Linked DNA regions of Homo sapiens: all the other regions are linked to region 1. The links are contacts of gene promoters, found by promoter capture Hi-C in blood cells and fetal thymus (Javierre and others, 2016). All regions are on one chromosome and are shown on one strand. The core of a region is centred on a gene start or on the middle of the fragment in contact, and the rest is flanking DNA. Distances in the headings are between cores, read along the strand shown.

Evidence for each region. The method cuts DNA at HindIII sites, captures the fragments that hold promoters and counts their contacts. A CHiCAGO score of 5 or more calls a contact.
Region 2: a fragment that was not itself captured here is called in contact with the fragment with the promoter of LNCRNA-IUR in region 1 in 5 of 17 cell types (activated CD4 T cells, M2 macrophages, total CD4 T cells and 2 more); the score reaches 8.7 in activated CD4 T cells.
Region 3: a contact is called between a fragment that was not itself captured here and the fragment with the promoter of LNCRNA-IUR in region 1, in 1 of 17 cell types (total CD4 T cells). The highest score is 5.0, in total CD4 T cells.
Region 4: a fragment that was not itself captured here is called in contact with the fragment with the promoter of LNCRNA-IUR in region 1 in 1 of 17 cell types (neutrophils); the score reaches 5.2 in neutrophils.

The regions. Positions count from the first base shown.
Region 1 is chr11:95,148,897-95,152,422 of GRCh38, forward strand. It overlaps LNCRNA-IUR (lncRNA imatinib upregulated), which reads left to right and starts at 1,643. Exons shown (of 3, transcript NR_110303.1): 1 at 1,643-2,852. RefSeq lists enhancers at 1,429-1,970, 1,971-2,512, 2,113-2,242 and a silencer at 2,763-2,872. The HindIII fragment of the contact is 7,632 bases long and covers 1-3,526 here.
Region 2 is chr11:95,599,474-95,602,999 of GRCh38, forward strand. No RefSeq gene overlaps it. Among named protein-coding and RNA genes, the nearest start is that of FAM76B, 190 kb to the right of the region's middle. The HindIII fragment of the contact is 2,572 bases long and covers 616-3,187 here.
Region 3 is chr11:95,550,131-95,553,656 of GRCh38, forward strand. No RefSeq gene overlaps it. Among named protein-coding and RNA genes, the nearest start is that of FAM76B, 240 kb to the right of the region's middle. The HindIII fragment of the contact is 6,834 bases long and covers 1-3,526 here.
Region 4 is chr11:95,531,994-95,535,519 of GRCh38, forward strand. No RefSeq gene overlaps it. Among named protein-coding and RNA genes, the nearest start is that of FAM76B, 260 kb to the right of the region's middle. The HindIII fragment of the contact is 8,164 bases long and covers 1-3,526 here.

The DNA of each region.
Region 1 (3,526 bases), core at 393-2,892:
AATTCTAGTAAAATTTATAAAGTAGAAATATAAATTCTAGTAACACTTGGGATGCCATGTTCAATAAATATTACTGAAGGAGGAGCTAACATCTGCTGCACTGCTTCAGTGGTCCAGGCACTCATACACTATATATAAACTCACTTAATCCTCACAGTTATCTTTTCCCCCCAGATGAAAGTGAACTTTAGAGGGATTAAATGCCTTGCCCCAAACCAAGTAACCACTTAGCGACAGAGCCAGGGTTTGAACACAGTCATGTCTCAGTCCACATTCCATGTGCTTTCCACTGAGCTCCATGTTACAGGTTGGGCTCCCCAGGAATCAGTCTCTGAGATGACAGTAGCATGCAGGAAGTTAGCAAAAAAGTGCTCAAGGGGAACACACGTGGGGAAGGGGAAAACTCAGGATTAGGCAAAGGAGAAGGTGGGCAGGTAGAACTAGAGCCAAGCAAATGCCAGCCAGCCTTTTTGGAGGGTTTGGGTGGATAACGGACAATGTCAAAAACAGCATTAATTTTCAATCCTGGGTGGTGGAAAGACTATATATATGTATGTATATATGTATGTATGTATGTATGTGTATGTGTGTATGTATGTGTGTATGTATGTGTGTGTATGTATGTATGTATGTATGTATATGTATGTGTGTATGTGTGTGTGTGTATGTATGTATGTATGTGTGTATGTATGTATGTGTAATTTCTCTATGTCAGACACTGCTGGGTTTGTGCTCCCCTCTATAATCTACTGATTGTGGGACTTCACACGAGGTACAAAACATAAGTGACCTAATAAGCCCTCTAGACAGGGCTTCAGGGAGGAGCCAAGGCTGGCACATAGTCAGAGGGCAGGAAAAGTTCCACTCCCTCCGTGTGATTAGGAGGGCTGCTTTGTTTTCTTCCCAGGCAGAGACCTCAAAGAAAAGTGTGACTTGTGGCAATCATTGGAATGCTCTAACGGGAGGGAGCCCTAAGCTAAGGGGAGGGGCTGTATCAGCCCCGGGAGGGCGAGGGACAAAGGGGCATTGTTTCCCTGGAGGGCAGGCTGGGGCAAGGCTGACTCCACTGCCGGCCTGGGCGTGGGCAGGTTTGCTCCCGGGAGGAGAAGGCCTCCATCCTGGCCCACAATAGCCAACCCAAAACAGTTCTGGCAAAATTAAAAGACGCAGGAAAATGCCAGCGACCGTTTATTTTCTCCTAGGGTAGATGGGGGAGAAAGCAGCTCCTTTTTCTGGGCTGAATGGAGTCTCAGGGAGGGGGCTAGGTGACAGCATCGCCCTTTCCTCTCCGGCTATTGCGCACCTTCTGGAGCCTCGCTCAGCCTGCTCCCTCCGGCGTAATACGCCAATGCTGCTACCCACAACGCACAGACCAGAAACCAGGATAGACAGAAGCCTAGAATGGCCTGGCATCGAGCAGGCCCAGCGCAAACGCAAGGTCTCTTCCTCTCCTTTCGGTGAACCCCACGCCCAGTCCCGAGAGAGAGAGCGGATGCTCATTTCCGAAAGCTGGCAATCCTGCAGTGGCCACTGGAAAAATACATATACGTGTGTGTGTGTGTGTGTGTGTGTGTGTGTGTGTGTGTGCGCGCGCGCGCACACAGTGCATATCGTGCCCATCTACAAGGAAACCTGGAGGCTCCACAAACAACTTTGAGTCCCGGGAGGGCGGAGGTGGAGAGAGATTCTCCGCTTGGATAAGGGCGGCTGGATAGCCGAGTACTCTCTTTTGGGGCTGTTGGCCGTCTCCGGAGTCTCGGGAGCGCCTTGATGTCCCTTCCCAGGGCTCGGGTTCCTTTGAGAGAATCAAGAGGAAGGTGTTTTTCACTAGGACTCGCGGTGGGCCCCACCTGCCTACCGTGGCCGGCCGGGAGCTATTACAGCAGGGTCTGCCCGTCCGACGACGGCGGCTCCAATCTGGGGTCCCGCCGGCGCCGACCCCTCAGCTCTCTCCCGATACCTGCTGGCCTCTCTCATCTTTGGTGGCACTCGCCGCCACGGGGACGGTGAGATCAAAGAGGTAGACCTAGGCCAGGAGGGACTGCCAGGGCTCCTTCCCGCGGGCCAGCCTCTCGTCCTTCCTCCCGGGACGGGGCTCTTTCCCTTTCTCCGGATGCGGGCCTTTGAGAGTCAGCGACGCCTTAGACTCCTCCCAGAAAAATGCACCCTCATCTACCCAATTCTGCCCTACCCTTTGGAGCTCCTGGACCCTCTAACCGCTCGGTGGGGTCAGAGCCCACCCCCGGAAGGGCCGCTGGTCGGGGACTGGTTCGCCCTCTCCTGGCCTCCTCGGACCAGTGCGCGGGGAGGATCCCGCTAACGCCGGGCGCCTGCAGACCTTGAGCGGCCTCGCCCTGGTGACCTCCCCGGGAAAGGCTGGGCGGTGCTTCCACAATGAGGGCCACCTGTTAATTTGCACGAGAAAGTGCTGCCGAGGGCCCACACGTGCGAATCCACCTGTGGAGTGCGTCCCCTCTCTGGGGCCAAGGCCTAGGGGAGGCCGAAGCGGAGAAGTTGCCTGAAGACTGGGAAGTAAGAGTAGGGGCGTCGGAGGAATCGAAGTTGCAGTGACATCAGGCTCGGACAGCCGGCGGACTCCTCGCAAGGTGATCGGATACTTCCGAGAGCCCCACAGTCCTCCTGGGCCTTTGCCCTCGCGTCTGGGATGCGCTCGGGCGCCCCCAGTCTGCGATGCGTTCGTACCTCCAGTAGGGTGACGTTTTCGCCGGGCCCCTCTGCGAACAGTCTCCGCCCTCCTCCACTGTGAGATATTTCACAGTTTCACCCGCAGAGGGCAACCTTATTCCAAGTTCCCGAGCGCCCTAGGCCTCTTTCTCCTCCCTGCCTAACTGGTGAGGTGGGACTTCAATGCCTTTTAGGTTTACAGTCTTTTCCTCCCCACGGCTTCTCTTTCCTCCCCGTCTCAGGCACTGGGCATTTCCAGTCGATCCAGCAGGTCTGGCTTCTCTCACATATGCAGTAAGGGTTAGGGGAGAAGGTCCCAGCTCCTCTTGTCTCTAGCAGAGTGTAAACTGGCTCTGCTGAGGAGGTGGCTGTGCTTTTATTCCTTCTCCTGAGAACTGTTTATATATTAAGGAGCTTCACAGCCTCCAACATAAGGAAAGCAGGTAGGAACTGATCATATAACGCTTTGTAAATGTTTTAGACTTTGGCTTTAATGGGAAAGAAATGGGGAGCCATTCGTGGGTTTTTGAGCAGCAGGTGGACATTGCTTTTCATAATGACCACGCCAGCTGCTGTTTGGAGAATAGACTGTAGGGGTCACTGCGCAAATTGGAGGCCGCGATCCAGGTGAGAACCAGGTGAAACAGAGCTCGGGCCATGGAGTGGCGCTGGAGGTAAGGAGAAACACTCAGACTCTGGGTATGTTTTTTGAAAGTAGGATAAAAGGCCGGGCGCGGTGGCTCACGCCTGTAATCCCAGCACTTTGGGAGGCCAAGGTGAGCGGATCAAGAGGTCAGGAGATCGAGACCATCCTGGCTAACACGGTGAAACCCCGTCTCTA
Region 2 (3,526 bases), core at 652-3,151, 450 kb after region 1:
GAATGATACGAAGTGCTCAGAAAATGCCTATCCTATAGTAAGTTGGTTATAGTTATTGTAATTATATGGACGTCCTTGCCTGGAGATTTCACCTGGGAGAACTTCTGACAATAGTGCCTTTCCTATGGTGACACATATTGTACTTTCTAACCTATCCTAGGCGATGGGTTGGAATTGGGGGTGAGGGGGCTTCACCAGCTTGAGTCTTGACATGCTATTTTGAGCATTAAATGAAATAATCCTTGTAAAGTGCTTAGCTGTGTGCTTGGCACTCAGGCCATACTCAATAAATGTTAATTAGTGCAGATTTTCTTCCAGATGCCTAGCACAGGACAGGGTTTATAGATTGTGCTGTAAAATTATTCCTGAATAAATATATGGTATTTAAACTTAAACGTCAATGCACAAGAGAGGGTGTCTCTGGCTCTCTTGCTACAGCAACTAGTAGGACCCCCAACAGCACCCCCACCAATTCACTAGATGCTTAATAGATATTTTTTAGTTTCCTCTGAAGAGGAATAAGAAGAGAATATTAGTCGATTGTAGCCACTTGGCTGCAAATTTTCCACAGGAGCTGAGGTTAGAGGTTTAGTGGCAGTAACACTAAATGTTTCAAGCTTTCTTAGAAAACCACAATTACATTGATTACCCACTGTCAGTGGAACATTCACTGGAAGTCACACCCCTGCGAGGGACTGAGTGGTGATGAGCTTTCTTTAATCTGTCCAAAAAGTTTCCCTAGGTTTCTCTCATCAGAAACTGGCAATTGAGAAAGTGCAGCCCAGGGTTAGGGGGCTGTCTGTGGCTACAGAATGCAGTGAAGCTAAGAGGCCCATAAGGGGATTAAATCTATGACCTGCTCCTCATTAGCACAATGTTCTAGCTGAATGGGAAATAATGCAGACTCCTTGAGTGTTAGCAAATACTGACCTACTTAGATATGAGGATAAAAGCACACATTTTCCCTTGGACATCAGCACAATCTGTCTCTGGGAACTGAAAGGACAGAGAAAGCCCTTTTACAGGGAATTTCTGGGTCAATAACTCTCATCTCATGCTCCTACAGTAATTACTGGATTATGTTCCCCAATTATTCTCCTATCCAATAACTGCCTCTCTGCCTACCCACCCATGTTCCAACAAGTATTAGACAATGTGTCAGGCCATCTGAGTCTCCTATGACATCAGTCATCTTCATACAACTAGATCCCCCTGCCTAGAACATTTCCATCTCCCACCCACCCCACCATCCCCACCACCTTCACCAACACAACCTCTGCTCCTGGCCTCCACTCATCTGGCCAGCATGTGCTCATTTCTCCTGTCCCAGCAAGCTGTCCTGGAAGTCTTCAGGAATTCTGATGCCTGGATACAGATCCATCCATGTACACCTCTGCACACAGTACTCTCCCATCACAGTACTTACTGCATTGTACTTCCACGGTCTATGTTCTCTCTCCCCAATCCCCAGCACTGTAAGTGCCTAACGCAAGGACTATGTCTGGTGAAGAGGTGAATCCTATCTACTCTGTGCCTGGCCTAAAGTAGGAATTCAATAAATACTTGTTGAATGAATGGATGATGAAAGGAAATCCCAATTTTCCTTTTATATATTAAACTTCCTAAGTGATGCTAAATACGATCTGAAAATATTAAATAGTACTTACATTCAACCATCCTTAAGGGCACCCTTAAGTCTTGACATTTGCTGAAGTAGGATGAAAAAGTGTTTTAGAATCACACAGGTATGAATTTAAATTCCTAGGTGATCATTAACTACCTGTGTTTCAACTTTTCTAAATGAGAATAATAATACCTCCCTCGCAGAGTTACTTAGAAAGTAGAATAAGATAAAATACGTGAAGTTCCTGCTACTCAAAAACATTAGTATGTTATCTCTTTCTATTCTCTAATTAATGAGCTTTCTCCTGAATTTCTGTCTGCCCTATTCATTGTACACTAAATACTATATTTTAATACACACACACACACACACACACACTCTTTCAAGTTAATATATATTTACATATATACACATATGCTCTTTCCATTAACTTGTAAAATATATGTATGTGTGTATATGTGAATGTGTGTGGTGTTGTGTAGACATATATATAGATATATTTGCTTTTGTATACTTTTTTCAATTAACTTGGAAGAGTGTATGTATATGTGTGTGTGGTGTGTGCTTGTGTGTGTGTGTGTGTGTGTGTGTGTGTGTGTGGTATGTTCCTCTAGCATATCTGTTTATATATTAAACTTTATAATAGACTTTCCAGGCTTATTGTGAGAGCATTCGGGAGATAATGTAGAAAAGCACATGAGCTCCCTGTACATAGTAGGCAATAAATTCATATGTTTTCCTTCCTTCTTTCCTTTCTTTTTTTCTTCCTTCCTTGTTTTTTTATTCCTCTTAGCAGACATAGTCTCTAAATATTGATTGATTTATTAAGAGATTATATCCTTTATTCAAATTATATCCCAGTTTACCTGGCACAGAGAGGGCACCTGTCTTGGTCCATTTGGGCTGCTTTAACAAAATACCATCAACTATGTGGCTTAGAAACAACAGGAATTTATTTCTCACAGTTCTGGATGCTAGAAGTCTGAAATCAGGGTGCCAATGAGGTTGAGTTCTGATGAGGGTTGTCTTCCAGATTTGACTGCCTATTTCTTGCTGTGTCCTCACATGGTGGAGATAGTGAAGGGTCTCATTCTGGCTCTTTCATAAAGACACTCACGCCGTTCATGAGGGCTTTGCCTCCATGACCTAACAACCTCCCAAAGCTCCCACCTCCTAATACTACTATCATGAGGGTTAGGATTTCAACGTATAAATTTTGGTGGGACACAAACATTCAGACCATATCAACAGTCAGCACATAACTTATCAAATGTTTGTAGAGTAAAAACAAATAATAAAGTATTATTTTCAGCGTATCATTATTATGGATATCCACTACATTTTTAAGGATCAAAACAGCTTCTGAACAATGTGAATTCTCCTACAGTCTTTAGTCAACAATAACCACAAATATTTCCCTTCTTTAAGGAGATTTGAGGATGAGGTCCTCACATTACCTTCTCAATGAATATTGAGTGGAGCAAAGGAGGTCTTCTTTACAAGATAAACCTTATTTTGGAAATAATATTCTTACAAGAACAACATTTTTGTATCTGGAGAAGAAGCTTTGGTAATAAGATACAAGGTATGTTCAGATAATCAGATAATCTCTGAGGTCTTTTTTAGGGAAAGATGGGTCTTTGCTAAGAATAACACTATCCTGATGACAATGCAGCTTCTAAAAGGTGAGTTTAAGCTTGAGGGTGTTCCACATTGATTTTGTAAACACTGATAGAAGCATTCATATTCTGAACAAATAAATTACATTTATACAGAATAAAGAGGGACTGATAAAATCAAATCACAAAACCCAGTTGTCTTTTTTGGAGGGATGGGTGGGGGGAATAAGCATATACATTACAGAGAAGTATGATGTGGGGCTAGGAAGGAAGGAATAAAGTA
Region 3 (3,526 bases), core at 370-2,869, 400 kb after region 1:
CTGCCCCCATTTTTGCCATATTCTAGACATACAGGGGTTTTTCCCAAGATTTTCCCCATTTCATAGGCTTTGCACTTTCTATTGCCTCTGCCCAGATCTTCCCATCTAGAAATTTATTCAAAGATTGCTTCTTTGCCCAAGATTTTATTGATACACTTGTCCAGAATAATTTTATATTACATTATCCTCTTTTATTATCTCTATAACCCTTACCACTAACTGAAATCAACTTACTTATTTATTTGCATTTATTTTCTGTCTCTTCTCTATTTTTCTGTCTAGAAAGTAGACTTCAACAGGCCAAGTTTTTAGTTCCAAAGCAGCCTGGATCAGCGCTTGAGACATGATAGGCACCCGAAACACATTTGTTGAATGGATGTATGAATAAATGAATGAATGAATCAACTAATCAACTGGAACTCTGTTTTTGATTCTCTGACAGAAAAAAAAACCCTATCATCTTTAATTTCAAAGGTCTAACATGGTGATTAGAGTAGCAATGTGATATTTCTGGGACAAGTCCTTTAGGGGTAAAATTCTAGTGACAGATGAAATCATTCAGATAATTTGAAGGAAAGAATGAAGTTTCAGTCAGACTCCCATAACAGGATAGAACCTTTCATGGACTAACAGGAACATGCTTATGTACCTCCAGGATCAGAGCCTGGGATGGAAAAAATGATATAAATGAGTCCTTTCCTCCTCCTGATGCTTGCCCTAATCTGACTCTACAGAAGAGGAGACATGGGTGGATTCTCTAGGAAACAGATTCTGAGATAGAGTTGGGCATCACTATGGTCTAAATGTTTGTGTCCACCAAAAATTCAAATGTTGAAGCCTAATTACCCATGTGATTATGTTTAGGAAATGGGGACTTTGGGAGGTGATTAGGCCATCAGGGTGGAGCACTCATGAATGGGATTAGAAAGTCTTACAAAAGAGGCCCAGATTGCTGCCTGGCCTCTCCCACCAGGGAGGGACACAACCTGAAGGCACCATCTTTGAACCAGAGAGCAGCCCTCACCAGAAACCAAATCTGCCAGTGCCTTGATTTTGGACTTCCCGGCTCCCAGAACTATGAGAATTAAGTTCTTGTTGTTTATACGCCACCTAGTTTAAGGTATGTTTTTATAGCAGCCAGAAAAGACTAGGGTAAATATGTGGGAGGTTTATTAAGGAGTGCTATTGGGATCAACACCTGCAGAAGGGAAGAGAAGAAAGAATTGTGTGGGGGGAGAAGTTGAGCTGTGATTCAGTTTCGTTGGAGACCGCAGCCAACCCTAAAGGGAGTTTTGAAGCTGGACTGACCCTTCAGGGTTGTCCTGAAGGATAAGGAAGCCAAGATTTTATATTTCTACTTGGAGCAGTCATTAAATGTGAGCTGCTCTGGAAAGGGGCACAACTTTGGGCCAAACAGCCCTCTCGAGCAGAGGTAATCCCCATAAGGGATGCTGGGTATCCCAGCCAGTAGCATTCCCAGCAGCTGGGAGGGTCAGTCAGTCATCTCTATGGTGGAATCTAGGTGATGCACCACTATGTCCATCAGAGACCCAAATCCCAGAAAGGACTGAACTTAATCCTCTCTCACCAGGCACAGAAGGAATGAAGAATTTCTGCTCCCTGCTTTGAACCAACATTACAGAGACACATAGCAGTCTGGGGACATCCTAAAATATGACATTTAGCAGCTACTTTTATTTTTTTTTAAACTTTTGTTTTTCTTTAAGAATATAGATGGAATTCTTCTTACCTTTCATTTTCAGAAGTATCATCCCCCGCAACTTTATTGAGATTGACAAATAAAAATTGTACATACTTAAGAAGTACAACGTTTCGATGTATGCATCACAGTTAAGCTAATTAACGTCCGTCACCTCACATAGTTAGTGTGTGTGCATGTTGGTGTGTGTGTTAAGAACACACACCTAAGATCTATTCTTTCAGCAAATTTCAAATATACAAAATATTATTTCTAAACTGTAGTTACTATACTATATATTAGGTCTCCAGTACTTATTCATCTTAAAACTGAAAGGGCTGGAGGCCGAGGCCAGCAGATCACAAGGTCAGGAGTTCGAGACCAGACTGGCCAACACAGTGAAACCCTGTCTCTACTAAAAATACAAAAATTAGCGGGGCGTGGTGGCAGGCGCCTGTAATTCCAGCTACTAAGGAGGCTGAGGCAGGAGAATCAATTGAACCTGGGAGGCGGAGGTTGTAGTCAGTCAAGATCACATCACTGCACTCCAGCCTGGGTGACAGAACTAGACTCCATCTCAAAAAAGCAACAACAACAACAAAAAGAAAACTGAAAGGGCTGGATGATAGGGAAAATGGGGAGATTTGGGTCAAAGGGTACAAACTTCCAGCAGCTGCTTTTAAAAAGAGAGGTTTTGTTCTTACTTTGTTTTTGGTTGCTGTTGATTTTGTTTATTTTAGCTTGTTTGTTTTCCCTTTAGGACATAGAAAGCATTTTCTCTTTGCTGTTTCAGACTGTAGCTAAGCTCTTTTCAATCTAAATCCATGTCTTTAAAATTGAGTCTTCTCATTAAAATGACTCTCTTCCATCCATACTAAGCTAGGTTACTTCAGGTTCTCTAGGACACAAAAGAGTGTATCTAAAAGGAATACTTTCTCTAAACTCAGGAATGACCAAACTAGTTACAGGAGTCGACCTGAGAAAATCTATGATGAATATACTTCTAAAGTTCTGATAAAAGGAAGTAATTAAATCAACCTGCCTTACTCATATTATTTGCTCTGCTCTTTTTCTTAAATTCACTCTTATGTCTCTGACAATTTCTATTTCTTTGGACCTCAAACTGTAATGTGTTTTAGAATAAGCTGGTATGCTTTGGAAAACAGATTGTTGGACCCCATTCCCCATAGAGTCAGAAGATTCAAGTGGGACCCAGGAATCTGCATTTTAGAAAACACCCCAAGGCCGGGCGCGGTGGCTCATGCCTGTAATCCCAGCACTTTGGGAGGCCGAGGCAGGTGGATCACGAGGTCAGGAGATCGAGATCATCCTGGCTAACATGGTGAAACTCCTTCTCTACTAAAAATACAAAAATTAGCCAGGCATGGGGGGCGCGCCTGTAGTCCCAGCTACTCAAGAGGCTGAGGCAGAAGAATTGCTTGAACCCGGGAGGCAGAGGTTGCAGTGAGCTGAGATCACTCTGCTGCACTCCAGCCTGGGCAACAGAGCAAGACTCCATCTCAAAAAAAAAAAAAAAAAAGAAAAGAAAAGAAAGAAAAGAAAAGAGAAGAAAACACCCCAGATGATTTCGGAAGCAGGTGGCCCAGAGACCACACTTTGAGAATCACTAATTGCTTTCATAGGCTGGCAAACACTATTTTACTAATAAGACAACACTCTCAGTGATGTATTCTTATAAGCAATAAAAATAATGTAATTTGAGCAATAGCTTAAAGACAAGGCTTTTGCCTTTCACAACTCCTGGGGACTCCATTCACAAAAACACAGTGGAGTTATGCTCCAGAGGTCCCGTTCATGTTGTATTCT
Region 4 (3,526 bases), core at 434-2,933, 380 kb after region 1:
CATGCCTGTAATCCCAGCACTTTGGGAGGTCAAGGCGGGCAGATCACCTGAGGTCAGGAGTTCCAGACCAGTCTGGCCAACATGGTGAAACCCTGTCTCTACTAAAAATACAAAAATTAGCCAGGCGTGGTGGTGCATGCCTGTAATCCCAGCTACTGGGAAGGCTGAGGCAGGAGAATCACTTGAACCTGGGAGGCAGAGGTTGCAGTGAGCCAAGAATGCGCCATTGCACTCCAGCGTGAGCGACAGAGTGAGGCTCCATCTCAAACAAACAAACAAACAAAAACAAAACAAAAAACCGAAAAGAAAACAGTGGTGGTAACATAAGTGAGATGCGTAAAGATATAATGCGAGATGCGGTAGAAATTGAGTAATCCCAGTGGTTTCAGTCAAATTGAGAGAAATTACTGCCTACAGTTTACAAGTTTAGACTGTACTGGGGTGGAATTCTAACTCTGTTGTTATTAGTTAGGTCCTTCAGACAAGTTAACAATGCTAAAAATATAATTAACAATAATATTCCCTAGCCTTTATTAGTATATGTGCTAGGCACTGTTCTAAATGTTTACATGGATTATTTCTGAGTTTCAGTTTCTTCGTGTATCAAATGGCATTAGTAATTATTGTACCTTCCTCATAAGATTACTGTCATAAGTAAATAAATTAGCATGATACTGGCCATGTAAACAGCACTAAAAACATAGCAGTCGTTATTGTTATTATTAGCTCTGAAAATACTAAGGATAAAACCAAGTGAGTGGATATATATACTTCTCTATATTCCTCCTGTTAAATACAAGCAAAAACTCCGGACATTATGTATAAAATAAACATGCGAAGGCTCAAAGGTGGGGCAAAGATAGCAGACTGGCTAGGGACCTGAAACTGGAGATCTAACATGGCGAGTTTCTTGGGTTTTCTTTTTGTCTCATATATCCTGGACATGAAACCAAGAAGCTAGCAGCCTGGAAATGCCAATGTGAGCAACAACAAAAGCCCCAAGAAAAGCATGCCGTTTCTAGCTAAAGGAACAGCCTAGCTAGACAGAAAACTTTTAGACAAAATCCATCCTCTCCTAGTCAAACACCGTAGAGAAAGCACACAGCCTCACCCTCATCAGCAAAGGCAGAGTTGGGAAGCCAGGATTTCCACCCTTGCTTGTCTGTAATATGGCACTCTTAAACCGCCTCCCACCCTGTAGTATCAGAGAAGACAGAGTAGGGAGCTGAGACTTTCATTTCCATCCCATGATAATGAGACACCTTCCCCCAAATCCCCAACACAGTTTTAGTGGAGGCCACATGGAGACCACATCTGGCACTAACAAGGCATTTCTACCTCTCCCATCTAGGATAGTGTAAGAGGAAGAATAGTGTAAGAGGAAGATAGTGTAAGAGGAAGAATTTCACTCCCATGTGACAATGATGAGGAAGCGCCCCCCATGCTCACCCCACCACTTTCCCTCCCAGAGCAATGTCAGAAGAGGCCTGCTGAAGAAAAAGATTTAATTAAGATACAGAAGTTCGTGACAAAATACTAAAAATGTCCAGATTTCAATTTAAAAATCACACATTATACAAAACACCAAGAAAATCTTAATTTGAATGAGAAAAATAAGCCAACATACACCAACACTGAGATGACACAGTTGTTGGACTTATCTGAAAGGCAATCTAAAGCAGCCATCGGAAAAATGCTTCAGTGAGCAATTATGAACATGCTTGCAACAATTGGAAAAAATTGAAAGTCTCAGTAAAGAAATAGAAGGTATAAAGTAGAGCCAAATTGAAATGTTAGAACTAAAAAATGTTATAAGTAAGATAAAAACTCAATGGATAGGTTCAACAGAATAATGGAGAGGACAAAGGAAAGAATGAGCTTGAAGGTAGGACAGTAGAAATTACCCAATCTGAACAACAGAGAGAAAATAAGGAGGGAAAAATAAACAGACCCTTGGAGACCTGTGGGTCTATAACAGAAGATCTAACATTTGTCACTGGACACAGGAAAAGGAGGAAGATGGTAGGGATAAAAAAATATTCAAAGAAATAATGGCTGAATATTTCCAAAATTTGGGGAAAGACTTGAACTTACAGACTCAAGAAGGTGAGCAAATTCCAAACAGGATGAATTCAAAGAAATCTATCAAGACACATCACACTCAAACTTCTGAAAACCAAAGTCAAGGGGAGAGTATTGAAAGCACTGACAGAGAAAAGACATGTTATCTACAGGAGAAAAGTAATTCCAATGACAATGGATTTCTCATCAGAAACTATGGGAGACAGAAGGAATTAGAACATTTTTCAAGTGCTGAGATAAAAGAATTATCAGCACAGAATTTTATATCTAGTGAAAATATGCTTCTAAATGAAAAGAAAATGAAACTTTCCCAAAGAAATGAAAACTAAAAGGATTTGTCACTACAGACCTATTTCAAAAGAATGGCTAAAGAAAGTTCTTGAAACAGAAAGGAAAGGACTTTTTAAAAGAACCTTCAAACATCTGGAAGGAAGAAGAAAAAACAAAAAGATCTAAAAATCTTAATACATTCAACAGTCTTCCCTCTCTCGAGTTTTCTAAATTGTGCTTGATGATTAAAGCAAAAATTATAACAATTTTTGATGTGGTTCTCAGTATAGGTAGAAAAATATTTAAGGCAATTACATTGTAAACAGGGGAGGGTAAAAGGTAGTTAAAAGCAGATAAGAGTTCTATGCTTTATTCAAACTGGTAAAGTGTTGACATCAGTTGACTTTGATAAGTTACATGTGTATGATATCACGCTTACAGCAACCACCAAAAATCTGTATCAAAAGATACATAAAAAATGCTACAGATAAATCAAAATGAAATTCTAAAACCTGTTGAAGTAATCCATAGGAAGGCAGGAGAAAGAATAGAGAAGTAAAAAACTGAAAGAACAAAAGAGATAAAAAGAAATAAAATAGCTATCTTAAGTCCTAACATAGCAATAAGTACATTAAATGTAAATGGCTTATGATTCCATTTATATAACATTCTTCAAATGACAAAATTAAAGAGATGGAGAACAGATTAGTAGTTGTCAAGGTTTAAGGAAGGTGGGAAGAGGTGAGTGGTGGGAACTATAAAAGGGTAGCCCAAGAGGATTTTGTGGTGATGTTATGTGTATCTTGATCTGAGTGGTGGTCACATGAATCTACACATGTGATAAAATGGCATATAACTGCACACACACACCATACCACTGTCAACTTTCTGGCTTTGATACTGTAGTATCATTATGTAAAATACAGCCAGTGGAAGGAAATGGGTGAAGGAGACAAGGGACCTCTCTGTACTATCTTTGCAACTTACTGTGAAACTATAATTATTTCAAAGTAAAAAAGTTTGTTTGTTTGTTTGTTTGTTTTGTTTTTGGTTTTGTTTTTTTGAGAGGGAGTCTCGCTCTGTTGCCTAGGCTGGAGTGCTGTGGTGCAATCTCGGCTCACTGCAACCTCTGCCTCTTGGGTTCAAGCGATTCTCCTGCCTCAGCCTCCCGACT